Regions from separate parts of the Homo sapiens genome. Here all the other regions are linked to region 1. Evidence: promoter capture Hi-C in 16 types of primary human blood cells and fetal thymus (Javierre and others, 2016). All regions are on one chromosome and are shown on one strand. Each heading gives the region's core, a stretch centred on a gene start or on the middle of the fragment in contact. The rest is flanking DNA. Distances are from core to core; before and after follow the strand shown. Region 1 holds the start of RLIG1 (RNA 5'-phosphate and 3'-OH ligase 1). Region 2 has its middle 5.4 kb from the start of TRW-CCA4-1. Region 3 overlaps LINC02453 (long intergenic non-protein coding RNA 2453).

What was found. The method cuts DNA at HindIII sites, captures the fragments that hold promoters and counts their contacts. A CHiCAGO score of 5 or more calls a contact.
Region 2: a fragment that was not itself captured here is called in contact with the fragment with the promoter of RLIG1 in region 1 in 4 of 17 cell types (naive CD4 T cells, total CD4 T cells, activated CD4 T cells and 1 more); the score reaches 9.1 in naive CD4 T cells.
Region 3: a contact is called between a fragment that was not itself captured here and the fragment with the promoter of RLIG1 in region 1, in 1 of 17 cell types (non-activated CD4 T cells). The highest score is 9.0, in non-activated CD4 T cells.

Annotation. Positions count from the first base shown.
Region 1 is chr12:88,033,522-88,037,858 of GRCh38, reverse strand. It overlaps RLIG1 (RNA 5'-phosphate and 3'-OH ligase 1), which reads right to left and starts at 2,323. Exons shown (of 7, transcript NM_001009894.3): 1 at 2,121-2,323. The coding sequence starts at 2,210. It overlaps LOC107984542 (a long non-coding RNA gene), which reads left to right and starts at 2,363. Exons shown (of 3, transcript XR_007063395.1): 1 at 2,363-2,445; 2 at 3,512-4,148. The HindIII fragment of the contact is 2,128 bases long and covers 1,769-3,896 here.
Region 2 is chr12:98,507,436-98,511,772 of GRCh38, reverse strand. No RefSeq gene overlaps it. Among named protein-coding and RNA genes, the nearest start is that of TRW-CCA4-1, 5.4 kb to the right of the region's middle. RefSeq lists enhancers at 1-215, 2,861-3,404. The HindIII fragment of the contact is 8,186 bases long and covers 1-4,337 here.
Region 3 is chr12:98,487,450-98,491,786 of GRCh38, reverse strand. All of the region lies in intron 3 of LINC02453 (long intergenic non-protein coding RNA 2453), which reads left to right. Among named protein-coding and RNA genes, the nearest start is that of TRD-GTC1-1, 14 kb to the left of the region's middle. RefSeq lists a silencer at 962-1,256. The HindIII fragment of the contact is 2,579 bases long and covers 1,245-3,823 here.

The DNA.
Region 1 (4,337 bases), core at 1,074-3,573:
TTTCTGAAAAAGACTTATGCCACTTCTATAGTCTGTATCTGAAGTAGCATCATCTTACAAAGTGAAACAACACTGTACAATATAAACATACTGCTGTGTGTGAGCTTAAGACTTATGCACTATTGCAAACAGGTAAACTAAGAAATTAGCCCCTTCTAGTACTGATTCAATACTTTTAAAATATAATCGTCTAGTAGGGATTCAGTACTTTAAAAATACAACTGGTTTTCACTAACTTATGATGCTGGTTTCAAAGGATATCAATTTAACCCAGGGTGGTAGAGCCACAGGGTCTGGTCCAATAGCAGTGTGTGTGTATCTAAATTTATCAAAGATCCTATGTGGGGGGGAAGATTACTCTGCCCCATGGAGCTCCTGATGAGTATAAACATTCCTTCCATAAAAATCAATCATCTGCTCTTTGCTATCGACATATCCAAAGGACAACACGAGACACTGAGGGGTACACAAAGTTCTCCTTCTCCACCTGTCATAAAAGGCTTTAGACTATTACCGGAAAAACAAGGTACGTGTATTAAAATAGTGAATATCAATTGAGTGGCCCTCTACAATTTCTGGGTAGGGGAAATCACTGAAATGGCTAAATTGATAAGATTTTATGGAGAAGAACTGACTTGAAAAATTAAAAACACTCTAGAGGTGATCCAGAGTGAACAGTCTGAGCAAAAATATGAGACAGGATTGTGGTTGATATGTTCACAGGATGAAATAGATGGTTAAAACAGAATCCACTTTAAGGACGATGGAAGGTAGATTGAGCCTCATTAGTGGGAGGCCCTGAATTATAATTAAGAATGTGGATGCTATGCTATAAACGATACTGTAAGCTGTTCTTAACTGCAGAGAGGTAAGAGAAGGGGCTGCTTATTTTCCCTGGTGGAGAATACTTTCACAAACTACTCCCCTCAAACATACGAAGTTGAAAATCACAGTAGAGTGAAATACTAAAACAGATGATAATGTTTCATATGGATTACATTTGTTACAGCTAAAAAAAAAAGCCAATTACTGCTACAAACATTGAGTAATAACTGTGGTATTCTGACGAGGAAAGAACATGGTGATGATCAGTCTGAGTGGCAAGTAAGACCAGTTAGGTGGTGCAATGAGCAGGACATGAAATATTAACTGTAACAGCTGTGACAGCACTAGAAAGCAGGAAAAGATCAGATGCTATAAGGTAAAAAGCATCAAGGTGAATGGAAAACTGGCATGAAATGATTCCAGGGTTCATTCTTTAATTCAACAAATATTTATCCAGTGCCTACCACGTGCCAGGTCCTAGAAGCTGGGACTAAAGATAACAGGGCAATCTTTGCCTTAAACAAGTTTTAGTCCAGAAGACGAGAAAGCCAGTGCCAATGATGAAACTCAAGTGAGGTGGATTTCCAATGGACATGTTGGTTTTGTTTGAAATCAGCAAAGTTGGGAAGCACCCAACTAATCACTGGGGATTCTACTGATCAAAGACTACAACGTTTTATAGTACAATATGAAAAAATTACCCAAATATAGGTTACTCACTAGCATTTACCGAGGGCACACTATGGAAAACACGTTGCTGCAACAGAAAACCTTGAGAACACCAAAGTTAGAATAAATTAAGTAATTACTGGTAATATGAGGTGTGAACTTCAGTGACCTAATTAGGCTACTGTCAACACCGCCACTGGTTCGGACAGAACAGGTAAAGCAAGTCTTCTAATATCCACCCTTTCTTACTGCACTCTTGAAAAGTAGTAAAGCTTGGACTGTGGCAATTACCTGATTAGGGGGTTTCCCCAAAAGGTGCTGACCTGAAAAGGAAGGGACATGCTGTGGATGTGAGTTATCCATTTCCTTGCGAGGACAAGTTTGAATCTCCTGATAAGGAAAATTCTTTCGCAAATTCCCTCCCTCACAACTAAGAAAAGTACAAGAACCTGGAGCTCAGGGCGTACGGAACTCCCACCCCAGACCTCCCCAGGGAAACCTACAGAGGTTCCTGGCCTGCAGGGCAGTTCTAAAGCGCCCAGCCGCCCTCGCCGGGTTCGCACTGAGCCAGCGCCGCGGGGAGGAGCCCACGCGGGCCGCCAAGCCTGCCCGGCGCTCCTCCGTACCTGATGCTCCCTTTTGGAGGAAGGCTCCTCTTTCACCTCCGTCACAAACACACACGGCATTTTCCGCTGCACGGAGCCCAAGCGCTTCATGATGAGCCCAACAAGCAGTGCGAATGGAGGGCGTGCTTTCGAGCGGCGCCCGGTCCAGTCGCGGAGAAGCCCTGAAGCAGTCACCCGCACGGCTCAGGCCACGCACACTCCGCGCCCAGCCACCGCGGCTGCGCCCCAACTACCAAGCCCAGCGAGGGGCGGGAACGCCCGTCCAGAAGCGGCTTCCTGGCCGCGGCGCCTTCTGGGAGTTGTAGTGCAGAAGCTGAGGCGCCTGGTGGGTTCCCACGTGCGTCCTCCGCCCCCCACCCTCGGTTTTAATAACCGTGAAAAAAAAAAAAAAAAGATGCGTTTCCCGAACGTGGGTACTTAGCAATACCTAGTAACTAATGATTTTTTGGGAAATTAAATAAGATCAAATTATAAGCAATGAACATTTCAGATGTCGATTTAACACAGTTCCAATGGAAACTGCTTGCCTGTTATCTTTAGTTCGTGGGGGAAGCACTGTAGAAGTTTAGAAATGGCTAGAGACATCCCCAGATTCCCAAGCAGAATGAAAACTTCCTTTCCGGTAAGACTATCAGAAAACCCTATAATAAAACACCTGGGATCAAAAAAAGTTGTCGTTTGAACTACTCCTTATTGTGCAGCATAGCATGGTCGAAATGATTCTGATGTTCTTTTCGGAGTGAGTGCGAAATTTCAGCCTTAGACTAATCCAAAAGTACAGGAATACCTACAACCAGATTTCATTCTCAAGTTTTTCATAAGAATCTTGTTTAATTAAAGGTGAGCTCCAACAGCCCAAATGGCTTGAGTAATGGTAGTCAATCAACTGCGAGCTAAAAACAGCCTTAACTTACTGCTCAAAAGAATATTTTGAGGGTAAGTGATAAGATGGACAATGACTAAATAAAATAAATACTAAATATTTAGGAATAGTAGCCTTTCCATCTCATTGAATGTAGTAGTTCCTAGCCTGAAGTTGTAGGGGAATTTTGACTTTACTGCCATCCTTTATGGGCTTGGACTAGGCCCAGGTCTCATTTCTTTGTCTTATCTGCATGTACTCAACTGTCCAGCATGTTACTGACTTAGCCCTTGGAAAAATTAAACAACTATATCTCACTTAGAGGTATCTAACTAGTAAGGGGGTTCTCAAAGAATAAAACATCTTCCTTTAAAAAGTTCACAGTTATATTGAATACTGACAGTGAAAAAAAATAAAATTTAAAAAAAGTTCACAGTTTTTTGATTACTGGATTCAGAGGGGAGGGAGGAAGAAAGAGATTTGCCATTTCAAAGTGTTTACTTTCTTTTCTACTATCTTTTTCTCACAGGAAAACACAAAATGTTCTCCCACATCACACCCCGCCTGCATTTATCAAAAAAGAAAACACCTGATGCTGGCTGTGTGCTGTTGGAACCAGAAACTTTTTAGCATATTATAGTCGAGTGCCAGTGACTTCTTTGTTCTTTCAGAGGCATTCTAAAAAGCGGCGTGTTTCACGAATCTCAGAGACAACAACTTTCACAACTATCAACTGTCACCTCCCAAACTGCCACAGAACCTTTTAAGTCCAACATTCTGTCATTTGTGGGAAATACTCATCTTCTAAAACACACTCTACTTATTCTTTGAATAGTAGTTGCAAAGCTAGTCATCTCTCAGGAAGCACTTTCTATTTCCAAAACTTTGGTTTCATCAGTACCTGGAGCAAAGCTTCTGGCAGAAACACAAATCCTCATCAGGGGAGAGGCACAGGATCAACTCACGGTTATAAACTGGACTCCTGCTCTGACGGGTAGCAGCCATCAACTTTGCCCGATTCTCATAATTCTGAAGGGTCACCAAGGAGTTGCTACCAGCCACTGTACTTAAAGTGGTGTCACAGGATTACAAAATAGAAGAAAGTCTTTCTTCTCTGACTAATATGTTAGTGCTCTAGTAAGCATCAAAGATGAAAGACACACAATGTGAGCCTGCTTTGGCCAACACAAAGTACTTACAGAATTTTCAGGCCTACTTCCAGCCCTGGAGACAAATTTCCCATCATTCTTCATTACAGGAGTAATCATCCTCATAGGGCTGTAATAGCTTTTTTTTTTTTTTAGATGGAGTCTCGCTCTATCACCCAAGCTGGAGTGCAGTGGCTCAATCTTGGC
Region 2 (4,337 bases), core at 1,105-3,604, about 10 Mb before region 1:
CGCCTCAGCCTCCCAAATTGCTGGGATTACAGGCATGAGCCACTGCGTCTGGCCTGATGCAATTTTTTTTTTTTTTAAATCAGAAAACTTTCCCATAACTTAAAAAAAAATCATCTGGAGGTGGGCCCGGTGGCTCACGCCTGTAATCCCAGCACTTTGGGAGGCTGAGGCAGGCAGATCACCTGAGGTCGGGAATTTGAGACCATGTGGAGAAACCCCGTCTCTACTAAAAATACAAAATTAGCCTGGCGTGGTGGCGCATGCCTGTAATCCAAGCTACACGGGAGGCTGAGGCAGGAGAATCACTTGAACCCGGGAGGCGGAGGTTGTGGTGAACCGAGATCGTGCAATTGCATTCCAGCCTGGGCAACACGAGCGAAACTCCATCTCAAAACAAACAAACAAACAAAAATCACCTGGATAACTGCCTCCATTCTTTTTTTGAAGTTCTTAATATTATTAACATACAGCTGGCTTTGTTTTTCATTATCCCATTTTGCGGAGGATTGGTTGTGAATTTAAGGGTGTCACCTCAAACAGGAGGGTAAGTTGCACTTTAAGTGATGTAAAATAGTAAGAAGCTAAAAACCTTAAAAAATGTTTAGTTCTCGGCCGGGCGTCGTGGCTCATGCCTGTAATTCCAGCACTTTGGGAGGCTGGGGTGGGCGGATCACTTGAAGTCATGAGTTCGAGCTCAGCCTGGCCAAGAAATTAAAAAATTAGCTGGGCCTTGTGGTGGGCGCCTGTAATCTCAGCTACTAGGGAGGCTGAGGTAGGAGAATCGCTTGAACCCGGGAGGCAGAGGTTGCAGTGAGCCGAGATCGTGCCACTGCACTCCAGCCTGGGCGACCGATCAAGACTCCATCTTAAAAAAAAATAATAAGAGGGGCCAGGAGCGGTGGCTCACACCGGTAATCCCAGCACTTGGGGAGGCCAAGGCGGGCAGATCACATCAGGAGTTCGAGACCAGCCTGACCAACATGGTGGAAGCCCCTCTCTACTGAAAATACAAAAGTTAGCCGTGCCTGGTGGCATGCGCCTGTAATCCCAGCTACTTGGGAGGCTGAGGTGGGAGAATCCCTTGAACCCGGGAGGCGGAGGTTGCAGTGAGCTGAGATGGCACCATTGCACTCCAGCCTGGGCAACAGAACGAGACTCGGTCTCTCAAAAAAAAAAAAAGTTTAGCTCCCTTAAGCCATTTCTGATAATTTATTCTAAAGATAAAATCAAATGTGGAATTCATTTATAAAGGTATTTATTGCTTCATTTATAATGGTGAAAAAAATAAAAAATCTCTATCTCCAATAGTAAGGAATTGGTTGTTTATGATATATCCATATGACAAAATAATGCACAGTAGTAAAAAATCATGTTTTGACATTTAAGAATATGAGGCTGGCTTGGTGGCTGTCACCTATAATCCCAGTACTTTGGAAGGCTGAGGTGGGAGGATCCCTTGAGCTCAGGAGTTTGAGACCAGCCTGGGCAACATAGGGAGACCCCAGTCTCTACTAAAAATAACCAAAAATTAGGTGGGGCCGGGCACGGTGGCTCACGTCTGTAATCCCAGCACTTTGGGAGGCCGAGGCGGGCGGATCACCCAAGGTCAGGGGTTCAAGACCAGCCTGGCCAACGTGGCGAAACCCTGTCTCTACTAAAAATACAGTAATTATCCAGGTGTGGTGGTGGGCACCTGTAATCCCCAGCTACTTGGGAGGCTGAGGCAGAAGAATCACCTGAACCTGGGAGGCGGAGGTTGCAGTGAGCCAAGATCTCGCCATTGCACTCCAGCCTGGGCAAGAGCGGAACTCAGTCTCAAAAAAAAAGAAAAAAAAAAAATTAGCTGGCATGCTGGTGTGCTCCTGTACTCCCAGCTATTGGGGAGGCAAAAAAAAAAAAAAAAAAAAGAAAAGAAAAGAAAAAAAATAATATACATCAAAGTGGAGTACTTTCTCTTGGATAGTGAGGCACAGGTGATTCTTATTTTCTTTTTATTTATATGTCTGTATTTCCCTAGATTTCCACAATGAACACATATGATTTTAAAACCATATTTTTCTTTTTAAGTGAGAGTGCTAAGTTGGAGAACCATTTGGCTTATCAGAATTCAGGTCTGCATTTCAATTCTGCGTGTCCAAAAGCTCAATTTTATTAGTTCGTCCAGAATACATCGCTCTGTAAACCAAGAGAATCGGAGACAGGTCTCAATCAATTTAGAAAGTTTATTTTGCCAAGGTTAAGGACACACCCATGACACAGCCTCAGGAGGTCCTGACGACATGTGCCCAAGGTTGTGTGGCACAGCTTGGTTTTATACATTTTAGGGAGACATGAGACATCAATCAATATGTTTAAGATGTACAATGGTCCCATCCAGAAAGGCGGGACAGCTATTAATACAAGTGGGGGTTGGGGGGCTCCGGGGTGTTCCAGGTCATAGGTAGATAAAAGACCAATGGTTGCATTCTTTTGAGTTGCTGATTAGCCTTTCACTGAATACACTATTTACAGGAATAGTCACTTATGTTAGTCTGGCTTAGGGAAACAAAAGGGCAATCAGATATGCATTTATCTCATATGAGCAGAGGGATGACTTTTTAAATCTCTATCTGTCCTTTGTCCACAAGGAATTTCTTTGTGGTCAAATTGTGAGGGAGGTATATATAGCTTTTTTATCTTAGTAGCTATCTTTTTTTTTAGGAGTAGAATGGGAGGCAGGTTTGCCCTAAGCAGTTCCCAGCTTGACTTTCCCTTTGGCTTAGTCATTTTTGGGGTCCTGATGTTAGAGGGGTTTGAATCACAGCACCTCCATGTTGAAAAAAGGGTGGGTAAGGCCGTGCACGGTGGCCCATGCCTGTAATCCCAGCACTTTGGGAGGCCAAGGTGGGTGGATCACCTGAGGTCGGGAGTTTGAGACCAGCCTGATCAACATGGAGAAACCCTGTCTCTACTAAAAATACAAAATTAGCTGGGCGTGGTGGCACATGCCTGTAATCCCAGCTACTCAGGAGGCTGAGGCAGAAGAATCGCTTGAACCCGGGAGGCGGAGGTTGTAGTGAGCCAAGATCGCGCCATTGCAGTCCAGCCTGGACAACGAGCAAAACTCCGTCTCAAAAAAAAAAAAAAAAAAAAAAGAAAAGACCTACTGGGCTGCATTCCCAGACAGTTAAGGCATTTTAAGTCACAAGACGAGATAGGAGGTCGGCAGAAGATACAGGTCATAGGCCGGGCACGGTGGCTCACGCCTGTAATCCCAGCACTTTGGGAGGCCAAGGCAGGTGGATCACGAGGTCAGGAGTTCGAGACCAGCCTGACCAACATGGTGAAACCCTGTCTCTACTAAAAATACAAAAATTAGCTGGGCGTGGTGGCGCGTGCCTGTAGTCCCAGCTACTCAGGAGGCTGAGGCAGAAGAATTGCTTGAACCTGGGAGGTGGAGGTTGCAGTGAGCTGAGATTGCACCACTGCACTCCAGCCTGGGCGAGAGTGAGACTCTGTCTCAAAAAAAAAAAAAAAAAAAAAAAAAAAGACACAGGTCATAAAGACCTTGCTGGTGAAACAGGTTGCAGTAGCCTGCCAAAACCCACCAAAACCAAGATGGCGATGAGAGTGACCTCTGGTTGTCCTCACTGCTACACTCCCACCAGCACCATGACAGTTTACAAATGCCATGGCAATGTCAGGAGGTTACCCTATATGGTCTAAAAAGGGGAGGCATGAATAATCCACCCCTTGTTTAGCATATAATGAAGAAATAACCACAAAAATGGGCAATCAGCAGCCCTCTGGGCTGCTCTGCCTATGGAGTAGCCATTCTTTATTCCTTTACCTAATAAACTTGCTTTCATTTTATGGACTCGCCTTGAATTCTTTCTTGTGTGAGGTTCAAGAACCCTCTCTTGTGGTCTGGATTGGGACCCCAGTAACACCGAGATTTTTCTTTCACAGGACTTAAGTAACTAAAATACTCTCAGAAAAGAAAGCAAGGCTATTAAACAGGTGAAATAAATGCTCAGAGCATTCTATAGTAGTGGATAAGTCCTCTTGCAAGAATACATGAATAGACATTTCTTAGTGAAATAGAACAAATCCACAGAGCTGTCTTTTCTAGACAGGTCCATGTTTCAGTTCAAATCCTGACACTTCATAGCTCTTGATAGCTCTTTGTTTCCACCTTTCCTATAAAACTCTTTCCGTATATCATCCCTATATCATGAGTATAGAAGATTAAGTTAAAAAGTGTTGGATTTGCAGTCATTTCAAAGTTATAGAAAGTCATCAGATGGAGCATTCTAAAAAACTACAGATGTCCAGCCTTGGGAAAGAATCTGGGACCT
Region 3 (4,337 bases), core at 1,285-3,784, about 10 Mb before region 1:
TGAATCTGGGAGGCGGAGGTTGCAGTGAGCCTAGATCGCGCCATTATACTCCAGCATGGGGACAGAGTGAGACTCCGTCTCAAAAAAAAAAAAAAAAAAAAGGAAGAAAGAAAGAAGAAAACATCTGGAAAGAAGTAGCTGAAGATATTAAAAGTAGTTATATCTGGGTTAAGAGTGTGTTGATGATCGCTGTTCTTTTTGCTATTCCACCTTTTCTAAATTTTCTACTATGTGCATATATTGAACTCAGAAAAGCAAACAATAAAATTTTCTTTAAAGTTATTAATATTAGGCAAAGCAAATAGCTCAAATGTACATTTGTGATAGTCCTCTTAGCCTATGACATGTTGAGTAATGTATTCTAGTTTGGTTTTCCTTGTTAGCCAGATTTCATTATTTTGCAGCTTAAGTTGTTTATTTCTAGTTCCTTAAGGTGGGGAGGAGGTGAGGAGGTGAGGAGGGTGAAGAAGCAAATTCCACTTCAGTAAAACAGGGCGTGCAGCCTTTTCCCCTGAGTCCCTTTGTCTCAAGGCCCCTGTGTTCCGGGTCTTTTGTTGTTCTCTGCATGGACTTTGATTCGAGATTTAAAGAAAAACAAGTGCTGGCCCTCCTTGCGCCCTCTGGTGTCCCAGTGAGGTATAACCGGACAAACCGCACAAAGATCACAGCCATTTTCACACAGCGCTCCCCCGACACAGTGATGCCTGGAGACGGGAATGTCTGGAATCTTAGAGGAAGGAATCACACACCGACAAGCATGGCAGGCTTAGTCTTTGAAACTTAATCAGAGCCTGTAAGTATGGATACTGTTTTTTAAAAAATTAAAAGCAGTATCTGGACTGCAAGTATTTAAAAAACCTAATAGGAAATAAGTCAACTCTCAAAGCATTTGGCACAGCTTTCTGGGTTCTAAAACTAAGAAAATCTTACTACATATGTTGTTTTATAAATACAGCATAAACCAGTACTTTGTTATTTGTTTTAAAAATTTCTTTTAGAGACAGGGTCTTGCTCTGTCACCCAGGCGGGAGAGCAGTGGTGCAATCTTAGCTCACTGCAGCCTTGAATTCCTGGCCTCGGGTGATCCTCCATGCTTCCGCCTCCCAAAGGACTGGGTTTACAGGTGTGAGTCACTGTGCCTGGCCTAGAACTTTGGATTAATTGCAAATAAATTAGGTGAAAGAGAGGTCTGGATACCTAGGCTTTAGCTTGACTGAGGATAATGATTTCCGCAACTTTAAGCTTTACCATGTAGACCAAAAATAAAATTCTAAGCTCCCCAATCAGTTGAATGGATGCCTCCTTGTCCAGGGGCATTCCAAAGTTACCTGAAACGCTAGTTCATGTCATGATGGGAACAGGTGGTCAGACAAGCCTCATTATACTCTCCTCCCTTTGGGACAGAGTCCCTTTGGGATTCAGGCACATCTGACCAGCATTAACATAAGTCTGACAAAGAAGGCTTTTTGTAGCAGTAAGATACCAACATGACAGACAGCAGGCCCTGAAGTAAATTGAAGTAGTTTACCCCAAAAAATATATATATATTTTTGACACATTTTGAAATGGCCCTGCAAAGGTGTCTCTTGTGGGGAAAATCTACTTTCAGTAGAGAATCCCCTTCCCTTTCCAGATATTTTTCCTTAACCAGGAGAGAATTTACTGAGAGTCTTGCACCTTAAAAAGGTAAAAAATAAAATTTTTGGCTGGGCATGGTGACTCACGCCTATAATCCCAGCACTTTGGGAGGCCAAGGCAGGTGAATCACCTGAAGGTCAGGAGTTCGAGACCAGCCAGGCCAACATGGTGAAACCCCATCTCTGGCTAATACAAAAATTAGCCAGGCATGGGGTGGGGGTGTGGGCGCCTGTAATCCTAGCTACTTGGGAGGCTGAGGCAGGAGAATTACTTGAACCTGGGAGGTGGAGGTTGCAGTGAGCCGAGATCACACCATTGCACTCCAGCCTGGGCAACAAGAGCGAAACTTCGTCTCAAAAAATAAAATAAAATAAAATAAAATAAAAAAAATAAATAAAAATTAAAAGTTTTACAATCTGACCTGGTGCTGTGGCCCACTCCTGTAATCCCAGCACTTTGGGAAGCCGAGGCAGGTGGGTTGCTTGAGCCCAGGAGTTCGAGATAAGTCTGGGCAACACGGTGAAACCCTGTCTCTACTAAAAATACAAAAATTACCAGGACGTAGTGGCGCGCATCTGTAATCCCAGCTACTCCAGAGGCTGAGAGGTGCGAGGATGGCTTGAGCCTGGGAGGTTGAGGCTGCAGTTAGCTGAGATTGCACCACTGCACTCCAGCCTGGGTGATGGAGTGAGACCCAGAAATAATTACAATGTGTTCTTTCTGAAGCCTGCTACCTGGAGGCTTTATCTGCATAACAAGAACCTTGGTTTTCGCAACCCCTTATCTTAATTCAGGCACTCCCTTCTATAAATTTCAGGTCTTTAGATAAACTCTTTCAACTAACTCCCAATCAGAAAATCTTTGAATTCACTCATGATGTAGAAGCGCCCCATCCACCCTCACTGAACCAATGTACATCTTACATGTATTTTTTGATGTCTTCTGTCTCTCTAAAATGTGTAATAAAAAGCTGTAGTCCGACCACTTTGAGCACACGTTCTCAGGATTTCCTGGGGCTGTGTCACTGGCCATGGTCACTCATATTTGGCTCAGAATAAGTCTCTTCAAATATTTTACAGAGTTTGACTCTTTTCTTCATCGACAATCAATATGTGAGAGTTGATACTGAAGGTCCCTTTTGTCTATAATATACTTCATTCTATCGCATTTTTCACCAGACTGTTTTGTTTGGTTTTTATAGAGATGAGATCTCACTTTGTTGCCCAGCCTGGTCTCTTGGGCTTAGGAGATCCTCCCTCCTCAGCCTTCTAAAGTTCTGGGATTACATGTGCGAGCCCCCACCCTCAAACTGTGCCTTTTTTTTTTTTTTTTGAGCCCGAGTCTCACTCTGTCACCCAGGCTGGAGTATAGTGCCACGATCTCGGCTCACTGCAACCTCCACCTCCCGGGTTCAAGCATTTCTCCCTGCTTCAGCCTCCCGAGTAGCTGGGATTACAGGCGTCCGCCACCATGCCTGGCTGATTTTTTTTTTCTTTTTTTTTGTATTTTTAGTAGAGACAGGATTTCGCCATGTTGGCCAGACTGGTTTTGAACTCCAGACCTCAGGTGATCTGCCTGCCTCAGCCTTCCAAAGTGCTGGGATTGCAGGTGTGAGCCACTGCACCTGGCTAAACTGTGCTTTTTAAAATTGTATTTCCACTAAAAAAATGTAGATGTAAAATATTTTTGGTTTAAATACTTGATTGATAAGATCTCAGGCGTGGTGGCCCATGCCTGCAATCCCAGCACTTTGGGAGGCTGAGGCGGGTAGATCACCTGAGGTCAGGAGTTCGAGAGCAGCCTGGCCAACATGGTGAAACCCCATCTCTACTAAAAATACAAAATTAGCCTGGCATGGTGGCATGCGCCTGTAATCCCAGCTCGGGAGGCTGAGGCAGGAGAATTGCTTGAACCTGGGAGGTAGAGGTTGCAGTGAGCCGAGATCACACCATTGCACTCTAGCCTGGGCAACAAGAGTGAAACTCCATCTCAAAAAAAAACAACAACAAACAAACAAACAAAAAAACCTCAGGCATTACAGTTTTATTTGAATAGGCAATTCATGCACACAGAACAAAGTTCAAAAAGTACCAGATACCAGGAGGTATAAGGTATGGAGAGGAAAGTCTTTCTCCCATTTTTTCTTCTCTTTTCTTTCTTTTTTTTTTTTTTTTTGAGACAAGCTTCTTTCTGTCACCCAGGCTGGAGTGCAATGGCGTGATCCCAGCTTGTTGCAACCTCTGCCTCTCGGCTTCAAGCAGTTCTTCTGCCTCAGCCTCCAGAGTAGCTGGGATTATAGGCATGCCACCATGCCCGGGTAAGTTTTGTATTTTTTAGTAGAGACAGGGTTTCACTAGGTTGGCCAGACTGGTGTCGAACTCCTGGCCTCAAGTGATCTGCCTGCCTCGGCCTCCCAAAGTGCTGGAATTATAGGCATGAAACACATGCCCAACTTCTCTCCCATTTCTAACTCACAACAATTCTCTTGAGTGATGTTGGGGTTGGTCTGGCAGCTCAACAAGGCCATCATAGGCTTTGAGTACTCTCTTCTTGTTCTGGGTCTTTCTTCTCTGCTACCTTTAGCAAAAGGACATTTCTTTTCATGATTGTCACTTCATGTCTGCAAAGTAGCTGCTGCAGCCATCATGGCCAGTTTCAAGGCTGGAACATGAGGGAAGAGGCAGCTCCAGCACACTATA